2 separate regions of the Homo sapiens genome follow, and region 1 is linked to region 2. The links are contacts of gene promoters, found by promoter capture Hi-C in human tissues and cell types (Jung and others, 2019). All regions are on one chromosome and are shown on one strand. The core of a region is centred on a gene start or on the middle of the fragment in contact, and the rest is flanking DNA. Distances in the headings are between cores, read along the strand shown.

Evidence for each region. Contacts are between HindIII fragments. The study calls those that stand out against the background at their distance.
Region 1: a contact is called between a fragment that was not itself captured here and the fragment with the promoter of COX4I2 in region 2, in 5 of the 25 tissues and cell types used here (H1 embryonic stem cells, IMR-90 fibroblasts, aorta and 2 more).

What each region holds. Positions count from the first base shown.
Region 1 is chr20:31,551,664-31,557,047 of GRCh38, forward strand. HM13 (histocompatibility minor 13) reads left to right here. Exons shown (of 13, transcript NM_178581.3): 8 at 3,083-3,166. Among named protein-coding and RNA genes, the nearest start is that of MCTS2, 7.0 kb to the left of the region's middle. RefSeq lists an enhancer at 3,087-3,586. The HindIII fragment of the contact is 6,275 bases long and covers 550-5,384 here.
Region 2 is chr20:31,635,262-31,640,601 of GRCh38, forward strand. COX4I2 (cytochrome c oxidase subunit 4I2) reads left to right here and starts at 2,651. Exons shown (of 5, transcript NM_032609.3): 1 at 2,651-2,701; 2 at 3,757-3,838; 3 at 4,672-4,836. The coding sequence starts at 3,757. RefSeq lists a silencer at 2,572-2,711. The HindIII fragment of the contact is 12,374 bases long and covers 1-5,340 here.

The sequences.
Region 1 (5,384 bases), core at 2,437-4,936, 83 kb before region 2:
GCTGCCGGGAGGGCAGGCAACAGTGAGTGCATGCCATGGAAGCACTGGCTCGTGGCGACAGGCAGTCGTTGGGGGAGACTGGGGGAGATTCCACTCAGGGGATCAAGAAACAGCTGTCTTTCTCGTGACTCACTCTACCACTGCGGACAGCCTTTCTCCCTGCGTTGAGGAGAGCTTCATGGCCACAAACAGCTCCTGAATTCTGTGGTCCCAGCTTAGTGACCCCAGAGGAAAACAGGTTTCTCCCAGCTTTGGCCTGAATAAACCTACAAGACCTGGCCTGGCCCATGAGCCAGACACTCCCACTGGAGAGATGGAGGATCGTGATGGACAGGCCAGGGTCACTGCCCTCTCCAGGGCCTGGGGGCAGAGTATTGGAATTGGCAGCCCCCGAGAACCAAGTGTACACGGGGAGGGCATTTCTCCAGAGCAAGGGAACAGATGCTGGGCCAGCCAGAGCAACAGCTATTCCCCAGTGCCTTGATGGTTGAGCCTGGGGGTGTGTAAGCCCAGAGAACCCAGCCAGGGTGTCAGGAAAATCTTTTCTGGGTCATGAAGGATGAATACACATTTCCCAAGCATACAGGGGCAATATGGGCATTTGAAAGATAATGTACAGCTTCAGCAAAGGGCTGGAGGCAGGAAGGTGCATGGAGGGGCCTGGGAGCAGAGAATCAGGGAGTGGGCATAGCTGAGTTCAGGGAAAAGAGGCTGGAAAGAGGTGGGCAGAGGCCAGATTTGGGAAGCCAAGGATGCCACTCTAAGGAGCTTGGACACTGCCCCGTAGGCCACTGGAAGACTCCGAGCAGGGAAGTGGTGCTGTCATATTTGGTTTCTGATACTTAGGGTCTGGTTTTCTGGGCTAGGGAGAAGACCCACTGCCTTCTACTGCTAGGACTAGTGCTCAGTGGCAGAAAGGCAGAACAGTGAAGTGCTCATATGCTGACATCAGGCTGCCTGGACTTGAATCTCAGCTCTGCCACTTGCTGACCGTGTGGCCTTGGGGAGAAGACTTGTCCTCTCTGAGCCCTGGTTTCTAGAACTGTAAAATGGTGACAATAGTCTCTGCCACTCAAAATTGAATGGTACCAGGATTGAGAGAGAAAATCTGTAAATCACTGCGTTGTACATTCAAGGCAGGAAGAGGCAGGCAGGGCAAGGGTACCTATCCATGTATTAGGGAAGCACAAGCTTATTCAGAATCCCTGTGCACGCACCTCTGTGTACCTGTTGTTGGCCAGATGAAGGTTGCAGTGAGCCAAGATCACACCACTGCACTCCAGCCTGGGTGACAGAGTAAGACTCCGTCTCAAATATATATGTATATATGTATAAAGAAATAAAAATTAAATGGCCAGGCGTGGTGGCTTACGCCTGTAATCCCAGCACTTTGGGAAGCTGAGGTGGGCAGATCACAAGGTCAGGAATTCGAGACCAGCCTGACCAACATGGTGAAACCCTGTCTCTACTAAAAATACAAAAATTAGCCAGGCATGGTGGCGCATGCCTGTAATTTCAGCTACTCAGGGGGCTGAGGCAGGAGAATCACTTGAACCCGGGAGGCAGAGGTTGCAGTGAGCCGATATTGCGCCACTGGACTCCAGCCTGGGCAACAGAGCGAGACTCCATCTCAAAAAAAAAAAAAAAAAAATGTTGGCCAGAGCTGACCCCCTACCTGCAAGTAAGGAATTCAAGGAACAGGATTTTCCTGATTGGCTTAGTCTTGCACCACACTTATCACCTGGGAAGGCTGCCTAACACAAAACCAGGACTGGATTAGTAAAGAAGGCATGAGGTAGCAGTTAACTGTGTACAAATCATCTAATCTTCACTATCACCCTGAGGGGTCAGTTCTGTTGTCTACCCGTTTCACAGGTGACAAAACTAAGGCAGGTAAGTAACCTGTGCAGAGCACAGAACTAGGATTCAGACCTACAGACCCACAAGTCAGCCTCTAAGGCCCACTTATAACTGCTCTTCTGCTTGCAAGGCCCTATGGATGAAATCCAGTTATAACCTCCTTTTGCTATAACTAGACACAGAGGGAGGCGTTTCTCCCTAATCTGTATTTATCCAGACAAGCTGTCCAGCAAGATTTCTGAGTGAGGGGCTTTAAGGAAGCAATCTGCGGGTGTGTAGCCTTTTCTCCCTCAGCAAATACAGAAGGAGCTTATAGCCCGGGCTCACCCTGCTTCAGAACAAGGGCCAACATCTGTCCATACCCCTGTTATAGTGAGATGGGAAACCTTGTAGATGTTGGCACTGTGTGGCTCTTTTCTTTTATATACTGGGCTTTAGGGTCAATCCCATTTAACCAAAGGGTTCAATAGCTATAAAAAGGCGTTGAAATTGTATGGTTATTTGAGTTATAGCTCAGTAAAGGCATTAAATCTTCAGCCTAGATGACCCTATTCCTCCCCACTCTAACCAGCTGTGACTCCAGATGGAGACATTGCCCTGCATCCTCTCACGTCCCCATCCCCCACATCCCACCCAGAAACAAATGTGTGAGTTTCATACAACAAGAATGGGGGGTTAGGAGTCAAAGTAAGCTGGGAATACAAAAATGGGGCGGGCGTCTAAAATCCCAGCTACTCAGGAGGCAGGAGAATCACTTGAGCCTAGGAGACAGAGGTTGCAGTGAGCCAAGATCGTGCCACTGCACTCCCGATTACAGTCCTCATTGCCCTGGGCAATAGAGCAAGCCCCGTCTCAAAAAAAAAAAAAATACAAAGTAGGCCGGGAGCGGTGGCTCACGCCTGTAACTCCAGCACTTTGGGAGGTCGAGGCGGGAGGATCACGAGGTCAGGAGATCAAGACCATCCTGGCTAACACGGTGAAACCCCGTCTCTACTAAAAATACAAAAAATTAGCTGGGTGCGGTGGTGGGCGCCTGTAGTTCCAGCTACTTGGGAGGCTGAGGCGGGAGAATGGCATGAACCCAGGAGATGGAGCTTGCAGTGAGCCGAGATTGCGCCACTGCACTCCAGCCTGGGTGACAGTGCGAGACTCCGTCTCAAAAAAAAAAAAAAATGTAAACTGGGCTCCAGCTGACTCCTCACATTCCCGCCTCCCGCTTCAGTGGTGTTTCCCCAGGATCTGCTGGAGAAAGGCCTCGAAGCAAACAACTTTGCCATGCTGGGACTTGGAGATGTCGTCATTCCAGGTGAGCCTGCTGGTGTGGGGGCTATGTGAAAGGGGTGGAGAGGGTATTCCCCGGAGCAAGGGGATTACTGCTAAACAGACAGGCTTACCAGCTGAGAAAGAGAAAAGGTAAGGCTGGATCAGGCCAGGGATTGGTGAAGGGTTCCCCCTTAACATCCGTTTACGGAGGGCCAGTCAGGTGCCATGCCCCAAGCTGGGTCCTGGTCAGGTGTCAGTGAACAAGACTGTCTTCACAGAGCCTCTGGTCTAGGTGAGCAGATGTTGCTCAAGAACTACAAAAGTAAAAGTCTAATGACAGATTGAGGTACACTCTGAAAAAGCACGTTTCATGACAATCTTAACAGACTGGACCCCTGTCACACACACCCACACATACACATACCCCTTCCCAGCATCTGCAAGCATCACAGATGTACCAGAATTGCCCTAGCCCCCTTGCTCCTCCTCCCTGTGCCAAGACATCTCCAGGGAGAACACACACATGGGCTCCTGTCTGCACTCTCAGCAGAGGAGCATGTGCGTGCACACCTGCTTATCTGCAGAGGCTGGCCTTTGAGCCCCTGGATCTGCGTGTGGGTTCTAGTCAGTGTGTCTGTGGGTATGGACACGGGCCCTGTCCACAATCCAAGCAGGATAGCACATCCTGCGCAACCACAGCCTGGCCTCACTTTGGGGCAGGAGCAGCTCAAACTACCAGTCAGGAAAGAGACTAAGGGCAAAGCTGAGCTGCTGAAGTGGCTGAGGCTCGGGTGTGTCTGCTTATCTGGGCCCAGTTGTGGGGGCAGTGAACCCAAGGGACATACTTGTCTTCCTAGCCTCAGAGTGAGAGGGTTAGAAGCTTGCTTAAAAGAAGGTTTTAGCTGGGCACAGTGGCTCACACCTGTAATTCCAACACTTTGGGAAGCTGCGTGGGGAAGATCACTTGATGCCAGGAGTTCAAGACCAGTCTGGACAACATAGCAAGACCTCATCTCTACAAAAAAAAAAAAAAATTAGCCAGTCGTGGTGGCTCATGCCTGTAGTCCCAGCTACTCTGGAGGCTGAGGTAGGAGGATCGTTTGAGCCCAGGAGTTCAAGGCTGCAGTGAGCTATGATTGTGCCACTGCACTTCAGCTTGGGTGACAGAGTGAGACCCTGTCTCTTAAAGAAGGAGGTCTGGCCTGGGCAAATTGTGAGACCATATATATATATAAAATTATTATTTCTCCTTTTTTTTTTTTTTTGAGACGGAGTTTTGCTCTTGCCCAGGCTGGAGTGCAATAACGCGATCTCGGCTCACTGCAACCTCTGCCTCCCTGGTTCAAGCGATTCTCGATTCTCCTGCCTCAGCCTCCCAAGTAGCTGGGATTATAGGCATGCACCACCACGCCCGGCTGATTTTGTATATTTAGTAGAGATGGAGTTTCTTCATGTTGGTCAGGCTGGTCTCAAACTCCCGACCTCAGGTGATCCACCTACCTCGGCCCCCACAAAGTGCTGAGATTACAGGCATGAGCCACCACGCCTGGCCGACCCCGTCTATATTTTTTAAAAGAAGAGGAATTATTTTAAAGCAGCAGATTAAAGGCTGACTTACTTTCCAGGGTAGGATATTATAGCAATTCTGATCACCTAGGGTGATACAGGCACTTCTATTTGTGACAGTTGCATTTTGTGACACATGGAGGTGACACAGAGGCTTTCCCTGTTTTACCAGTGAGGAAACTGAAGCTCAGAAGTAAAGGGAATGATACAAATTCACACACTAGTAAGCAACAGGGCCAGGACTCAGACCAGCACTGTCCAACTGCAAAAAAGGCTACGCTGTCAGAACTGCTCCTTACAGCAGCACTAGCAGTAATAAGACGGTAATCACAACAGCTACCATTTATCAAGCACCTGTCGTGTACCAAGAATGGTGCTAGGTGGCCGGCCGGGCACGGTGGCTTAAGCCTGTAATCCCAGCACTTTGGGAGGCTGAGGCGGGTGGATCATGAGGTCAGGAGATCGAGACCATCCTGGCTAACATGGTGAAACCCCGTCTCTACTAAAAATACAAAAATTAGCCAGGCGTAGTGGCGGGCGCGTGTAGTCCCAGCTACTCGGGAGGCTGAGGCAGGAGAATGGCATGAACCCGGGAGGTGGAGCTTGCAGTGAGCCAAGATTGCACCACTGCACTCCAGCCTGGGCCACACAGCCAGACTCCATCTCAAAAAAAAAAAAAAAAAGAATGGTGCTAG
Region 2 (5,340 bases), core at 1,401-3,900:
GTTTACTGCAACCTCCACCTCCTGCCTCAGCCTCCTGAGCACCTGGGACTACAGGGGTGTGCCACCATGCCAGCTTAATCACCTTCTTTAAATAAAATCCAAGCTCCTCACTACCGCCTACAGGTCCTTCTCGGTGGTCCAGCCCACCTCTCCCTCCATCCAGCCTCCCCTTTAACCATGACACTCTGGCCAAGATGACCTCTCTTCTTTTGTTATTGTTTTTGTTGTTGCTTTGAGATGGAGTTTCGCTCTTGTTGCCCAGGCTGGAGTGCAACGGTGGGATCTTGGCTCACTGCAACCTCCGCCTCCCAGATTCAAGCGATTCTCCTGCCTCAGCCTCCCGAGTAGCTGGGATTACAGATGTGCACCACCACACCTGGCCAATTTTTTTATTTTTAGTAGAGACGGGGTTTCACCATGTTGGCCAGGCTGGTCTCAAACTCCCGACCTCAGGTGATCCATTCGCCTCGGCCTCCCAAAGTGCTGGGATTATAGGCATGAGCCACCGCACCTGGCTGTCTCTTCTGTTCAGTTGTTTTTTTTTTTTTTTTTGAGACGGAGTCTCGTTCTGTCGCCCAGGCTGGAGTGCAATGGTGCAATCTTGGCTCACTGCAACCTCCACCTCCCGGGTTCAAGCGATTCTCCTGCCTCAGCCTCCCAAGTAGCTGGGACTACAGGTGCATGCCACCACGCCTGGCTAATTTTTTGTATTTTTGGTAGAGATGGGGTTTCACCGTGTTAGCCAGGCTGGTCTCGATCTCCTGATCTTGTGATCCACCTGCCTTGACCTCCCAAAGTGCTGGGATTACAGCGTGAGCCACTGCACCTGGCCTGTCTCTTCTGTTTTTTGAACATGCTGTGTTTTCCTGCCTCTGGGTCTTTGCACAGGCCTTTTCCTCTGCCTAGAACAGAATTGTAAGCCCTGTGGGGGCAGGAACTATGTCTGGTTTTTTTTGGCTCTATAGCCCCCAACATTTATCCTGGTAAACAAGTATGCAATAAATGCCAGCTGAAACAGGTCTTTATAAGTTTTTTTTAAGTTTTTTTTTTTTTTTTTTTTTTTTTGAGGAGTCTCACTCTACCACCCAGGCTGGAGTGCAGTGGTGCGATCTTGGCTCACTGCAACGTCTGCCTCCCAGGTTCAAGCGATTATCTAGCCTCAGCCTCCCGAGTAGCTGGAATTATAGGTGTCCCCTGCCACACTCGGCTAATTTTTGTATTTTTAGTAGAGACGGGATTTCACCACGTTGGCCAGGGTGGTCTCAAACTCTTGACGTTAGGTGATCTGCTCGCCTCCGCCTCCCAGAGTGCTGGGATTGCAGGCATGAGCCACCACGCCCAGTTTTATAAGTAATTCTTGAATAAATGTGCCTGAGCCTTGTCTATTTTTTTTTTTTTTTTTTTTGAGATGGAGTCTCGCTCTGTCACTAGGCTCGAGTGCAGTGGCATGATCTTGGCTCACCGCAACCTCTGCCTTGCGGGTTCAAGCCATTCTCCTGCCTCAGCCTCCTGAGTAGCTGGGACCACAGGCGCCTGCCACCATGCCTGGCTAATTTTGTTTGCATTTTTAGTAGAGACGGGGTTTCGCTGTGTTAGCCAGGATGGTCTCCATCTCCTGACCTCATGATCTGCCCCCCTTGGCCTCCCAAAGTGCTGGGAATTTTTTTTTTCTTTTTCTTTTTCTTTTTTTCTGAGACAGAGTCTTGTTCTGTTGCCCAGGCTGGAGTGCAGTGGCCCGATCTCGGCTCACTGCAACAGCCGCTTCCCAGGTTCAAGTGATTCTCCTGCCTCAGCCCTCTGTGAAGCTGGGACTATAGGTGCGCGCCACCACGCCCTGCTAACTTTTTTTTTTTTTTTTTTTTTTTTTGAGATGGAGTCTAGCTCTGCTGCCCAGGCTAGAGTGCAGTAGCCGGATCTCGACTCACCGCAACCTCCGCCTCCCGGGTTCAAGCGATTCTCCTGCCTCAGCCTCCTGAGTAGCTGGGATTACAGGTGCGTGCCACCACGCCCAGCTAATTTTTGTATTCTTAGTAAAGATGGGGTTTCACCATGTTGGCTAAGCTGTCTCAAACTCCTGACCTCGTGATTTGCCTGCCTTGGCCTCCCAAAGCGCTGAGATTACAGGCATGAGCCACCGCGCCCGCCCAATTTTTCTATTTTTAATAGAGAAGGTGTTTCGCCATGCTGGGCAGGCTGGTCTCAAACTCCTGACCTCAGGTGATCCTCCCGCCTCGGCCTCCCAAAGTGCTAGGATTACAGGCGTGAGCCACTGCTGGCCTAAAAGATGCTTCTGGAGTAGGAGGCATTGGGCCTGGCTGGAAGGTTTGCGTCTGCAAAGGCCTGAAGAGAACATCCCAGGTGGGAGAAACAGCAAGGAGGGGAGGTGTGGAGGAGGCAGGGAGACCCTGTTCTTGGGACTACTGTCTGCAGAGGGTCTCCAGAGGCAGGACCCCGGTAGGGACACTGATGCAGGAGGCGCTCTGCAGTGCCTCCCCCCAATCTGTGGGCCGGGGTGCCCCCAGGGACGCAGGCTGTGCGCTCCCACGCCCTGCCGAAGCAGGACGTTCCCACGCTGGGGCGGCCCCGAGAAAGGCTGTGGGGCGGGCCGGGGGCGGGCGCCCGCACTCAGGTCCCTCCGCAGCGGGTTCTCAGTTGCTCGCTGGGCAGACCCAGGTCGCGCTCCCACTGCCGAGCCCGCGAGGTGAGTGAGTTGGGGGAGGACCCCGCCACCCAAGCCCGCGCGGGTCAGGGGCGCGGCTCGGTCTCCTGCCTTCGCCGCTGGGTCACGCCCCAGTGGTCCCTGTCTTAGAGGGTTGGGGGGCTTCTTGTAGGTTAGAGTTGAAGACTCCTGGGGAGTCTGCATATGTGTGCCATCTCTTTCCCCAAATATAGATTACATCCTCCCTCTCTTGATATGTGGAGCTCTCCCACCCACTAATCATAATCACTGGCCGGAGCCCCTCTTTTCCAGAAGTGTGGGCCGCCCCCTCCCACTTATCACCTGTAGTGTGCCCCCTCCCTCACTCTATTTGTTGGGTGCCCCTCTCTCTCCCTAGATGTGGGACTCCCCTTCTTTTCCCCAGATGTGTGTCTCCCTCCCTCTGACCCAGTTAAGTCCCCATCCTCTAAAGCCCCTCCCCACCACCATGGATGCCAAACCCTGAGTCTTCCCTGGGGGTGGGAGACTGGGCTCAGCCAGACTGGCTAAGCCCAGTCCCCACCCCAACCAGATCCAGCAGAGCAGGCCTGTGTGCACGTAGGCAGCCAATTAGGGGGGAAGGGGTGGGGGCCAGACCGTCTGTCTGTTCTGCCGGTGCAGGGGCCTCTGGCCCCTGCAGGGAAGAGAGACTCAAGAACTGCTCCCTCTCCACCTGGACCCCACCCAGCTTCCTCTGGGGAGCAAACAAGTGAGCGGGGTTCTCCAATCTGGCCAGACTGAGCTGGGGCTGGCACCAGAACCCAAGCCCTCAGCCTCAAACTCTTCAGACCCTGGCCCAAGACTTAGGCCTCCTCCCACTTCTCAGATGGTGAATTGAGGTCCCAAAAAGGGGCTTCAAAGGTCTAGGACCCCCATTGGCCCCCCGCTGGGGATATCAGACAAAATTAGAAGGGTCAAGGGCATGAGGGTGACCTTGAAACACTGGGACACCCCTACCACTACCATACCAGTGGAAAAGGATTTTTCCATCTGGCCCTGCGGTTTGGGGGCAGAGGGTGATGTGGGGGCAGAACTCATCTATACCTTCACGCCCCCAGATGCTCCCCAGAGCTGCCTGGAGCTTGGTGCTGAGGAAAGGTGGAGGTGGAAGACGAGGGATGCACAGCTCAGAAGGCACCAGTGAGACCTGGACTCCTTCCTCCCTGCCTAACTCCAGAGATAGGGGCAGGGGTCCCCTCTGCAGGCTGCCCCCTTTGCCCTTCCATGCCACCCTGGGCCTGTTCCTACCACACTTCCCATGTTCCCATGATCCCACTCCTTGGTCCAAGGTCAAGTTTCTCCAGGAAATGGAGTGCGCGGGGTGAGCAGACAGTGGTCATCTCCATTCCAAGCTTCCTTAGGAGCCAGCCCCCAAGCCTCAGGCCCCTAGACCTTTTGTTCTGAGGTGGAGGATGCTGACAGAACCTTGGACCCTGATTCCTCCTTTCCAGACCCTAGTTTCAATGCTAGTAAGAAGAAAGAGACCTAAAGTAGGAGAGACTTCAGCCAGATAGCAGAAGGGCCTTGCTGACCCATGGAGAATAACAAAGATAACATTTATTGAGCCCTTACTAGTACCCCAAGCTATTATAAACCTCCTTTTTTTTTTTTTTTGAGATAGAGTCTTGCTCTGTCGCTCAGGCTAGAGTGTTCAGTGGCGCAATGTCGGCTCACTGCAACCTCCGCCTCCTGGGTTCAAACAATTCTCCTGACTCAGCCTCCCGAGTAGCTGGGATTATAGGTGCCCACCACTGCGCCCGGCTAATTTTTGTATTTTTAGTAGAGGAGAGGTTTTACTGTCTTGGCCAGGCTGGTCTCGAACTCCTGACCTCGTGATCCACCCGCCTCAGCCTCCCAAAATGCTAGGATTACAGGCATGAGCCACCAAGCCCGGCCACCTTCTTTATTAATATAGTTAGAGATAGGGTGTCCCAAGGGCAGCCTGGACTCAGCTCCCTCCATTGTGTCTGCAGCCCGTGGTGGGGGGAAGATGTCCCCCTACACCAACTGCTATGCCCAGCGCTACTACCCCATGCCAGAAGAGCCCTTCTGCACAGAACTCAACGCTGAGGAGCAGGCCCTGAAGGAGAAGGAGAAGGGAAGCTGGACCCAGCTGACCCACGCCGAAAAGGTGGCCTGTAAGTGTCAGGGTGGGGCTGGCTGGAGAGAGTGGGTTGGGGGCTGACTTTGGAAAGAATGGCCTGTCAGGGATCAGAGGGCAGAGAGAGGCCCCCAAGACAGCCAGAAACCTCCAAACACCTGAGGGGTGAAGTTCATGCCTTTGTTCGTTTCTTTATTCACTCACCTGTTTGTGCATAGCCTGATGCTAGGCAATGCTGGGGACATGAGGTGAATCACCTGGATAGTTCCTGCCCCCATGGTGCCCCCGGTCCCGTGGGGAAAACCAATACAGACTCCAATAATTGTAATACAGAACATGTGGCTAGGGTGAGGTGTGTTCAAGGACTGTGAGATGAAATCTTGGTGGACCTCCCAGAGGAGGGCACATTCCAGCTGGCCTTTAAGGGTGAAGAGGAGGGCACTGCCAGGGAGTGGGAACTGCATGGGGAAGGGTGTCAGAGCAGGAGACTGTGGAGGGCCCTGGAATTGAGTGATGTGGGGGAGATGGGACAGAGAGAGGC